Regions from separate parts of the Homo sapiens genome. Here region 1 is linked to region 2. Evidence: promoter capture Hi-C in 16 types of primary human blood cells and fetal thymus (Javierre and others, 2016). All regions are on one chromosome and are shown on one strand. Each heading gives the region's core, a stretch centred on a gene start or on the middle of the fragment in contact. The rest is flanking DNA. Distances are from core to core; before and after follow the strand shown.

Region 1 (5,426 bases), core at 382-2,881, 260 kb after region 2:
TTCTTGGTAGACATCTCTTAAGACTCCTTTCATTGTTAGAAAATATCTGTGATGTTTGATCATTCTAAAAACAACCAAAACAACATGGGTACTTAAAAGGGTTTGGGGAGTACAGGCCATTTATTTCAGAAACCAGGGAAAATTGCTTGTGTTTACACAGCTGTTTTGCATTGTGGATCTTTCTTGTTTGAGGAACAGATATGTTTAAGGTGGGATAAATTTACTAGGTTTTAATCTGACTTTGGTTCGAGGAAACAGTTGCCATTAACTGAAGTTGTTTAGAAAGGAGACCCACCTTTCTTCCTGTGAGGGTGAACTCGCATTTCTCCTGGGGGCTCTAAGGCACTTGCAGCAAATCGATGATAAGGGTCTGATTATTTTCATGAAAGTATCTTAGAAGTGGCTAGTGTACTTAGACCAAAAAAATTAGACCATAAACGCATTGTCAGTAACAGTGGCTGGTTCCAAAACACACCATGCCTGAGAGTTGTGGAGAGTGTCTGGGCTTCGTAGGCCATTTCTCTGTGGAGCCCATAGCTTTTCAGAGACTTGCAGGAAAACAGAGTAACCCCTTCGTGGGATGCTACACATAGGCAAAGAGCTGGAGGGGAAGCCCCACCTTGGCCACCAGGAACTTAATGCAGGGCTGGAAAGCCAGAACCCTGGGGGGCAGTTCCACGCTCAGCTGGGTGGCAGTCCAGATTCCTCATAAAGAGATTGGAGCCTGAACCCCAGGCATGTGATCCAGCCAGCCACCGGACAAGACGCATGTGAAGACGGCGCACTACCAGTGACTCTACCTGCTTCAAATGAACCTTCTCTTAGGATAGGGAGACTTGTGTCACCGTCAGTGGGCCCGTGTCCCCCTTCCCTTCTTTACTCAGCCTCTGTTGCCCAAGGGCCTCTGTCCAACTGTTGCCCTGGACCCCTTCCAGAGCTGGTGCACACCAGTGTGGCCATTGCCACTGTGGGAACTGCTTTCGTACTGTCTTCAGAGTGGTTTCTCCTCGTTTTTAGTCTGTAGTCAAGCTTCTGTTGCCAGGGAGAGGGAAGAGGACCTTCTCTCAATCCCAGCAGGCAGTGGGTTAGGGCTGGGACCAGCTGTTTCTTTCTCTCCCCTCCTAGTAGAGCAGTACTTGGTGTGTGTGGGTATTCTGTAAGTCGGGTGTTTGTAACTAGGGGCATGGCCCGAATGATAAAAAGGCAGACTGACCGTCCAGAGTGATGTGCACCTTGTTCTAACCGAGTGAGCCAGAGAAAAGACTGCAGGCCTCTCCACCTTGACCAGGACACTCTTCTTTGCATCTTCACTTCTTTCCCTGGGTAGAAATGCCTGCTTTTCATGGGGAAAAAAAAAGAGATACCTTTTTCTGGACCTGTGTGACATTCTCCCTGGAACTAGTGGGTTAAGTGAGTCATTGCTTGGGGAAGTGTCTATTTGTTTGCTTTTGTGTTTGTTGAGCATAATGTTGCTATGCCTGAAGAGTTGCAAAATTCTTCTAAGAATTAGGATGGCTGTTTTTATTGCCACCTTGTCTCATTATTTCCCATTAAATATAGACACAGGTTCAGAAGACTAAAGACCTGCTCAATAATGTGGCCTCTGATGAAGCTAATTTAGAAGCCAAAATCGAAAAGAGAAAATTAGAACTGGAAAGAAATCGGAAGCGACTAGAGACTCTGCAGAGTGTCAGGTAGATATGAACACTTGGAGAATGAGTAGAAAGATGTCCTGGAAAGTTCAAACAAACTGGGCGTGGTGGCTCATGTCTGAAATCTCAGCTACTCATGAAGCTGGGGCGGGGGGTTCTCTTGAGCCCAGGAGTTTGAGACCAGCCTGGGCAGCATAATGAAACCCCATCTCTAAAAATTTTTAAAAATTACCTCAGTATGGTGATACACACCTGTAGTCCCAGCTACTTGGGAGGCTGAGGCGGGAGGATTGCTTGAGCCCAGGAGGTTGAGGCTGCAGTGAGCTATGGTTGCATCACTGCACTCCAGCCTGAGCCACAGAACAAGGCCGAGTAACAGAACAAGGCCCTGACTCTAAAAGAAAAAAAAAGTTAGAACAAAGACTTAAGAGAATAGAATGTGATCTTAACTCTTCTCAAGCAATGAAAAAAAGCCTTACATAAGGGTATCTTCACCTCAAATGTACATGTGTTGCCTGTCATAACAAGCAGATGGCTAAACTCATTCTCTTTACTGCTTGCGGTATGTCTGGAAAACTGCTTAAAGCTTGAACTGCCCTTTAAGCTTTTATAGCTTCTTGGAACTCAAGGCAGAGTAAGTGAATCCAGACGGGGAAATCCAGACGTGGTCTCCTAAGATCTTGCCATAAATTAGGTAGAAACAGAAACATACTCCTGCCTGTTTGTTGGCATAGATTTTAGACTTTATTTAAACCTTGATCATTCCTCACCAGTCAGTAATTCATCTTTCTTCCTACGTTACCTCATTGGAAATATATTTCCCAGGAATACCGATGGAGAATAGTGGTGCCGGCTCTCTCTCTCTTCTCTTCCTCGTTCTGTGCCTCTTTCCCTCCCCCATGCTTCTGCTCTTTCTCCCTTTTCATTCACCCTTTATTTTTCTTTCTTCTTGGCTCCCTCCTCTTCCCAGCTGCCTACTCTGCTCGGATGTTTTGCCTTTTTGGATGTTGGTGGCTGGCTACACCCTGCCCACTGTCCCGAGGTCTGTGGGGAGGCAGCACCTGGAGGCAGCGACAGCAACCACAGGGAGCGCCCTGGCTCCTCCCTGCCCAGCGCAAGGCCAAGGCCCTTCCCCTCCTGAAACTGGCTCTTTACCTCTGGAGCCTCAGAGAGGGAAAAAAAAAAAAACAGAAGTCATTGCCGCCATATAGATTGATCTCCTTGACACATTCCACTTTTAAAGCATCAATTCATTTTTGTTAAGCTCCAAATCATTTTAACAGAAAAGTCTCTTTGTTTTGCTCTAGTTCAAAAGATTATAATTATTTCTGAGTTTATCTGCTTATATTTTTAAAAGAGTAGAATTTTCCCTTTAAGGTCAATAATAAGAAAAAAGAAAAAGTTCAGCAAACCAGTATAGATTTTTATGGTTTTTTTTGTTTTTGTTTTTTTTTTTTGAGTTGGAGTTTCGCTCTTGTTGCCGAGGCTGGAGTGCAATGGCGCGATCCCGGCTCACTGCAAACTCTGCCTCCCGGATTCAAGCGATTCTCCTGCCTCAGCCTCTCAAGTAGCTGGGATTACAGGCGGCCGCCACCACGCCCAGCTAATTTTTGTATTTTTAGTAGAGACGGAGTTTCACCATGTTGGCCAGGCTGGTCTTGAACTCCTGACCTTGTGATCCACCTGCCTTGGCCTCCCAAAGTGCTGGGATTACAGGCATGAGTCATCATCACGCCTGGCCTTTTTAAAAAATTTTTTATCGTTTAAAAACCTCTTTAGACTGGGCACAGTGATTCACGTCTATAATCCCAGCACTTTGAGAGGCCAAGGCGGGCAGATCGCTTGAACTCAGGGGTTCAAGACCAGCCTGGGCAATATGGCGAAACCCCATCTCTACAAAAAAAAAATATAAAAAATAGCTGGGCATAGTGGCACATGTCTGTAGTCCCAGCTACTTGGGGGCCTGAGACAGGAGGATCACCTGAGCCCAGGCGTTCGATGCTGCAGTAAGCCATGATCACACCACTGCACTGTAGCCTGGGTGACAAAGTGAGACCCTGTCTCAACAAACAAAAAAAAACCACCAGCCTTAATTCGTAACAACCTGTGGTCCCCTTTTTAGAGGATTGCTTTAAATTTATAATATCCTGACAGTAGAACATTATTATTATTATTATTATTTCTTTTGAGATGGAGTCTCTCTGTGTTGCCTAGGCTGGAGTGCAGTGGCGCAATCTCGGCTCACTGCAACCTCCACCTCCCAGGTTCAAGCAGTTCTCCTGCCTCAGCCACCCGAGTAGCTGGGATTACAGGCATGTGCCACCACGCCTGGCTAATGTTTGTATTTTTAGTAGAGACGAGGTTTCACCATGTTGGCCAGGCTGGTCTGAAACTCCTGACCTCAGTTGATCCACCCGCCTCAGTCTCCCAAAGTGCTGGGATTACAGGCGTGCGCCACCGCACCCGGCCAACAGTAGAACATTATACCCAAATAAGATAATAATATATATATTTATTGATTTGGAGAGATGTGTCTGGTATGTGATTTTTTTGCCTTTAGAGATGGGGTCTCAATGTGTCACCCAGGCTGGAGGGCTGGAGTGCCACGGCAAGGTCAGAGGATCCTCACTCACTGCAGCCTTGAACTCCAGGGCTCAATCCTCCTCCTACTTCAGCCTCCCAAAGTGCTAGGGTTACAGGTGTGAGCCGATGCACCCAGCCTGATCATTTTTAACTCTATTGAGATTACGGTATATTGAAATGAAATAAAGATTATAAAATTTCTTGGTATATTTAATTTTTTTTTTAAATGCATTCCTATCTATATTTATGCATAGAAAAGTCTGGAAGGATGTATGTCAACTATCAAGCGCTTATACCTGGTGATGGGATTATCAGTAATTTTTACGTCATTCTTCATACTTTCAGGATTATTTCAAGTTTTTACAAAGAGCACATCTTATTTATGATGAAAAAGAAGTATGTTCATTTTGGGGGGAGAAAGCAGAAAAGGGAAAATATTTTTAAGCATTACAAGAATGAAGGACCTTCTCTAATTAAGGGTTTCCAGAGAAAGCCACCATGGAATCTGAAACTGTGAATACCCATTTCAAACTACTGCATATAATTCACCTTTCCTTTTTATTTCATTTGCTTCTTTTAGGCCATGTTTTATGGATGAGTATGAGAAGACTGAGGAAGAATTACAAAAGCAGTATGACACTTATCTGGAGAAATTTCAAAATCTGACTTATCTGGAACAACAGCTTGAAGACCATCATAGGATGGAGCAAGAAAGGTTTGAGGTGAGCTGAGCCTGTCCTCTGTTCAGCCATTCCTTCTGGTGTGTTATTTTGTACTGGGTGACAGGTCATTTTGTTAATATCATTGTGAAAAAAATATCAGTACATGTTTTTTCTCCCTGGTCAGTCTGAGGATTGCTCATGTAATGTGTTTGTTTTGCTGGCAGTGTACACTGGACTCCAGGGTTGTCAAATCTTTGATGTCATATTTCATCAGGTTTGGTCAGTTAAGAGAACAGACAGGGCCGACATGAGGCCTGTGTGGCTGCGTAAGACCCTGTGCCGACATGGGGCCTGTGCTTGCTTTCAGGCCCTGTTGTCACTGTCTTGAAATTCATAATAATTTTTAAGTGCATTTTATTTTCCACTGATCCCAAAAATTATGTAGCTGGTCTCGAGTGCAGATTTAAAAGCTTGCTTGGCTTTGGGAGGCCAAGACGAGCGGATCACTTGAGGTCAGGAGTTTGAGACC
Region 2 (5,157 bases), core at 1,891-4,390:
CATTCTTTCTTTCTTTTTTTTTCCCCCCAAAATGTTTAAGAGACAGGGTCTTGCTCTGTTGCCCAGGCCGGAGTGCAGTGGCACATCCTCAGCTCACTGCAGCCTGGAACTCCCTGGCTCAAGCAATCCTCCTGCCTCAGCTTCCTGAGTGGCTAGAATTACAGGCGTGTGCCACCATACCCAGCTAATTTTTTTTTTAGTTTTGTAGAAGTGGAGTCTGGCTACGTTGCTCAGGCTGGTGTGCAGTGGCATGATCTCAGCTCACTGTAGCCTGGAACTCCGTCTGCTCAAGTGAACCCGAGCAGCTGGGACTACAGGCGCGTGCCACTATTGTATTTTGTAGAGATGGGGTCTCACTGTGTTGCCTAGGCTAGTATGGAACTCCTGGGGTCAAGAGATCCTCCCGTGCAGGCCTCTCAAAGCTCTGGGATTACAGGCGAGAGCTACCACGCCCTGCCCAACCTTTGGGTTTTTATTTTTTTAATTTCGTTTATAGAGATGGCGGGGGTCTCACTACATTCACCAGGCTGGTCTCAAAGTCTTGGCCTCCAGCAATCCTCCCGCCCTGGCCTCCCAAAGCGCTGGGATTACAGGCATGAGCTATCGTGCCCGGCCAGCCATTCTTTCTCTGCAGCCGATATAAAGTAGGAAAGAACACAATTTACCGGTGACCGAATGTTCTGGATTTCCAGGGCCTTCCTTCAGGTCCGCAGATGCCCCTCCATCCGGAGTGGGCCTTGCCCGGGGTTCTGTTGCCGAGTCCAGATTCGCAGCTGTCTTTTCCTCTAGAGTCAGGAGAATTTCTGGATTTGCGGGCGCCTTCTCCCCTGTAGAAATGGTGACCTCAAGGCTTCTAGGTCGCATCTTTCCCGAGGGCAGGTACACTTCGAAGGGCCTGCACTCCTTCTGCCCCGGGGCGCCCCCCGCCAGCCCCTGCAGCCTCCCCGCGGAGCTGGCGTTTCTGCGCAGCCGGACCTCGGCCTGGCCCCCCTCTAGCGCCCTGCAGGGGCCGGGGCTTCTCCCGCCCGGCAGGGCCGGGCTCCGGGTCCGAGGCTTGCCCTGCGCGTCCAGGCCCTCCGAGGCCTTCTCTCTGCGTTTGCTCAGGGGCTTCCTCGACAGCCCCCTCCCGGCCTCGGGCTGGCTGCACCGCAGGCTGGCAGCTCCGCCCCCGTACGGCCGAGGGCCGTTCCCCTCGTTCCCCTCGGGGTGGTCTGGAGTCTTCAGGCTCCTGGGCTTGTTCTCCCCCAGGGAGCTGGACGCTGCGGAATCATCTGTGCCGTTTTCTTGTGTGGAATATTCTGGAAGGACAACCAGATGCAAAATGATGAAGCTGTCCCACGTTTAGGGCCCAAGATTCAGGGCAGAGGAGAGAGAATCCCCTTGGATATTAAAGTTTAGAAATTGAGGAAAACAACGGGCCGGGCGCGGTGGCTCATGCCTGTATTCCCGGCACTCTGGGAGGCCGAGGCGGGAGGATCACCTGAGATCAGGAGTTCAAGACCAACAGGGTGAAACCCCGTCTCTACTAAAAATACAAAAATAAGCTGAGCGTGGTGGCGCATGCCTGTAATCCCAGCTTCTCCAGAGGCCAAGGTGGGAGGATCATTTGAGGTCAGGAGTTCGAGACCAGCCTGGCCAACATGGCAAAACCCCGTTCCTACTAAAAATAAGAAACTCAGCCAGACGCGGTGGTGCGCACCTGTAGTCCCAGCTACTCGGGAGGCTGAGGCATGAGAATCGCTTGAGCCCGGGATGTGGAGGTTGCAGTGAGCTGAGATCGGGCCACTGCACTCCAGCCTGAGTGACAGAGCAAGACTCCATCTCAAAAACAAAAGTTCAGGACTTCCTAGACTAGACAATGGCAGTCAATTACCATTCAGTAAGAACATGCTTGATGTTGCTATGTATTTCTCTCTCTCTTATTTTATTTTTTGAGACAGGATCTTGCTCTGTTGCCCTGATGTGATCTCAGCTCACTGCAACCTCTGCCTCCCAGGCTCAAGCAATCCTCTCACCTCAGCCTGTTTTCTGTTTTTTCAATAGCTGAAAATACAGGTGTGTGCTACCACGCCTGGCTCATTTTTTTGTATTTTTGGTAGAGACAGGGTTTCACCATGTTGCCCAAGCTGGTCTCAAACTCCTGAGCTCTAGCAATCCACCCACCTTAGCCTCCCAAAGTGCTGAGATTATTTATAAGTGTGAGCCACCATGCCTAGCCTATATTTCTCAAATAGTACTTTTCAAACGTTTTAAGCAGGACAACTGTTTCAAATAAGATCTTACACAGGTCAGCAAAACCCAGATTATACGCTTTAAAAATAAAAATAAGCCGGGCACGGTGGCCTATGTCTGAAATCCCAGCACTTTGGGAGGCTGAGGCGGGAGGATCACTTGAGGTCAGGAGTTCGAGACCAGCCTGGCCAACATGGTGAACAGCACTGAGAAGATTCTATACCAACCCCGTTCATATGATTGCATAGCAATCCCTTTTTGCTAACCTAGAGATGTTTGTCTGACATGAGTATTAATCATAAATGTAGTGAAGAAGTCTCAAAGAACAGGTGTTCCAGCTCCTGCCTTTCGTGACCCTGACCTGCTTCTTAAAAAACCCATTAGGAGCCTGAAGGAAGTTTACTAACCCAGTTCCAAAGGCCAGAGTGAAGAAAGGGACGTTCCTGAACTAAAGTCATCTGGATTTTGGTAGACCTGAGACTCCCAATCCCCAGGTCAGAGTGAGCTGCTCTGAGCTCCTGGTCCCCTTTCCCACAAAGCAGCCAGCACTCAGCACTGGATGAGGAGGAGGCCTGGGCCCGCTTACCCTGAATGGCTGCCCTGTGGAGCTCCTCGGCCAGCAGGCGCTGGTTGATGGCCCGCAGGACCTGCAGGGTGAGCTGCACGGCGTACTCTTCCCCATAGTAGGTGACCAGCAGAGTGGCCATCTTCACCGGCCTGGCTCTCTGGATCTGGCTCCGGGGGATCCTGGAGTGCTCCTTCTGCACACTGGTGTTCTGCAGCTTGAACTTGAACTTCTCGAAGTCATAGGGCACCAGCTCCTCCAGGGTGGACAGCAGATGGTCACTAGGGGTCTTAGCCATGGTGCTGAGCAGGAGAGGCTCGAGCCAGCTGTCTGGCTTCTGGTAGGAAAAGAAGCCTCTGTCCTTGGTGAGCAAGAAAAGGCAGGTTGTGAAATAGCGGAAAAGGCACAGGAAATGCTCTGTGTCTTGGTGGGAACTGAGACTAAGGGTAAGGGTGTGTCCATGCCGGCTGTGTTCTCTTCTTACAGGTTCAGAGGATTTTCCAGCTGGGAGGGCTCCATGCCTTGGCAGACATGTGCCCCCACACCCCTCCCAAACCCTGGACCTCGCCTCCACACTAGACCACAGACAGATGGGCAAGTCTGCAAGGGAAGGTCTGGGATTGGATTCCAGACACCCCCTCCAATCTTCCTTCCTGCCAGGATCTGGGGCTGGCAGAGCGGGTGAGTGGGAACAGAGAGGACTATGCTGAGGGCCCGCCCTGCTGGTCAACTGTTCTCCTCCAGACTCGGGGTTTCAGGGACCTTCCAGAGCCAATGGCACAGGACGGGGGAAGGGGTGGGCACTGAATACAGTCCTGTGAGCTTTGCCTTTCCTGGCCCAAGAAGGCAAGTGAGGCCAGAAGGGCACTGCCAGGAGATAACTCTTGCCATGCCATCACCCCTGTTGATCCGGTTCCAGTTGACTGGTTCTTCCAGCCACATGAAGGACTTGAAAAGCAATGCCTGGACCACCAGCCTGACTCATCTGTTCCCAGAGCTGACTCAGTCCTCGCTCCCTGGAGCCAGAATGCTCTTCCGTGCACATTCATTGAACATTCTAGACAGTGTGCCAAGATGCTGGAGCTACACGGGTGAAAAGGCACGGGTGTCCTTCAGCTCATATGTGGTGCAGGGCCCCAGAGGTGGCTTTGAAGCTAACAGAAGTTACATGTTGGGGGCAGGGCACAGTGGCTAACGCCTGTAATCCCAGCACTTTGGGAGGCCGAGGTGGGTGGATCACCTCAGGTTGGGAGTACAAGACCAGCCTGGCCAACACAGTAAAACCCCATCTCTACTAAAAATACAAAAATTAGCCAGGCATGGTGGCACGCACCTGTACTCCCAGCTACTCAGGAGGCTGAGGCAGGAGAATCACTTGAACATGGGAGGCAGATGTTGCAGTGAGCCGAGGTTGCGCCATTGTACTCCAGCTTGGGCGACAGAGCGGGACTTTGTCTCAAAAAAAATAAATAAATGAAAAATTACATGTAGGGTGAACTGACTCCTCACTTACCTACTTCTGACCGTTGCATACCCTAATTTTTTTATTTTTAGATAGGGTCTTGCTCAGTCACTCAGGCTGGAGTGCAGTAGTGGGATCTTGGCTCACTGCAACTTCTGCCTCCTGGGCTTGAGCAACCCTCCAACCTCAGCCTCCCAAGTAGCTGAGACTACAGGTGCATTCCACCACATCTGGCCAATTTTTGTATTTTTTATAGAGACAGGGTCTCACTATGTTGCGCAGGCTGGTCTTGAACTCCTGATCTCAAGCGATCCACTCGCTTTGGCCTCCCAAAGTGCTGGGATTACAGGTGTGAGCCACTGCGCCCGGCCAGAAGTTTTGTTAATAATGCAATTTACCCTTCACCAGCACTTCCTCGGCACCAGCCACCACTAGCTTTATAAACACTTCCTCCTAGAATCTCTGCAGCACCCTGCAGGGCTGCGTTTATCATCCCCCTGTGCAGCCAAGAATCTGTAGCTTAGTGACTTGCCTAGAGCCAAGATCCAAACGTCAAACCACTTCACAACATCGTCTCCTGCATGACAATAATTTGTGATTTTACTGTTAATGACTACCCATGGATGTCACATTTCCAGCTGACCACTGAGGTCCAGGATGGGTCACTTCCACAGGTCAGTCACAACATTGCGACGCCTAGCTGAACACCCAGCTCTGGGTGTGAGCTCCTCTGTGTGTGCCCAGCCTGGGATTCAAGGCTTTGATGAGTTCTGGTTGGTTGAATTTAACTTACTGTCCAGCTGGTCCACCTGTTTCCTATTTCACAGAGTATTTGGTGTTTTTGCATTGTTTTCATAGCTGACAACAAACATGCAGTTTGCTAGATCTTTCTGAGCCC

What was found. The method cuts DNA at HindIII sites, captures the fragments that hold promoters and counts their contacts. A CHiCAGO score of 5 or more calls a contact.
Region 1: a fragment that was not itself captured here is called in contact with the fragment with the promoter of MEFV in region 2 in 1 of 17 cell types (megakaryocytes); the score reaches 6.1 in megakaryocytes.

Annotation. Positions count from the first base shown.
Region 1 is chr16:3,518,343-3,523,768 of GRCh38, forward strand. It overlaps CLUAP1 (clusterin associated protein 1), which reads left to right. Exons shown (of 12, transcript NM_015041.3): 7 at 1,561-1,694; 8 at 4,816-4,957. Among named protein-coding and RNA genes, the nearest start is that of CLUAP1, 20 kb to the left of the region's middle. The HindIII fragment of the contact is 1,209 bases long and covers 1,028-2,236 here.
Region 2 is chr16:3,253,493-3,258,649 of GRCh38, forward strand. MEFV (MEFV innate immunity regulator, pyrin) reads right to left here and starts at 3,141. Exons shown (of 10, transcript NM_000243.3): 1 at 2,819-3,141; 2 at 666-1,298. The coding sequence starts at 3,095. The HindIII fragment of the contact is 7,994 bases long and covers 1-5,157 here.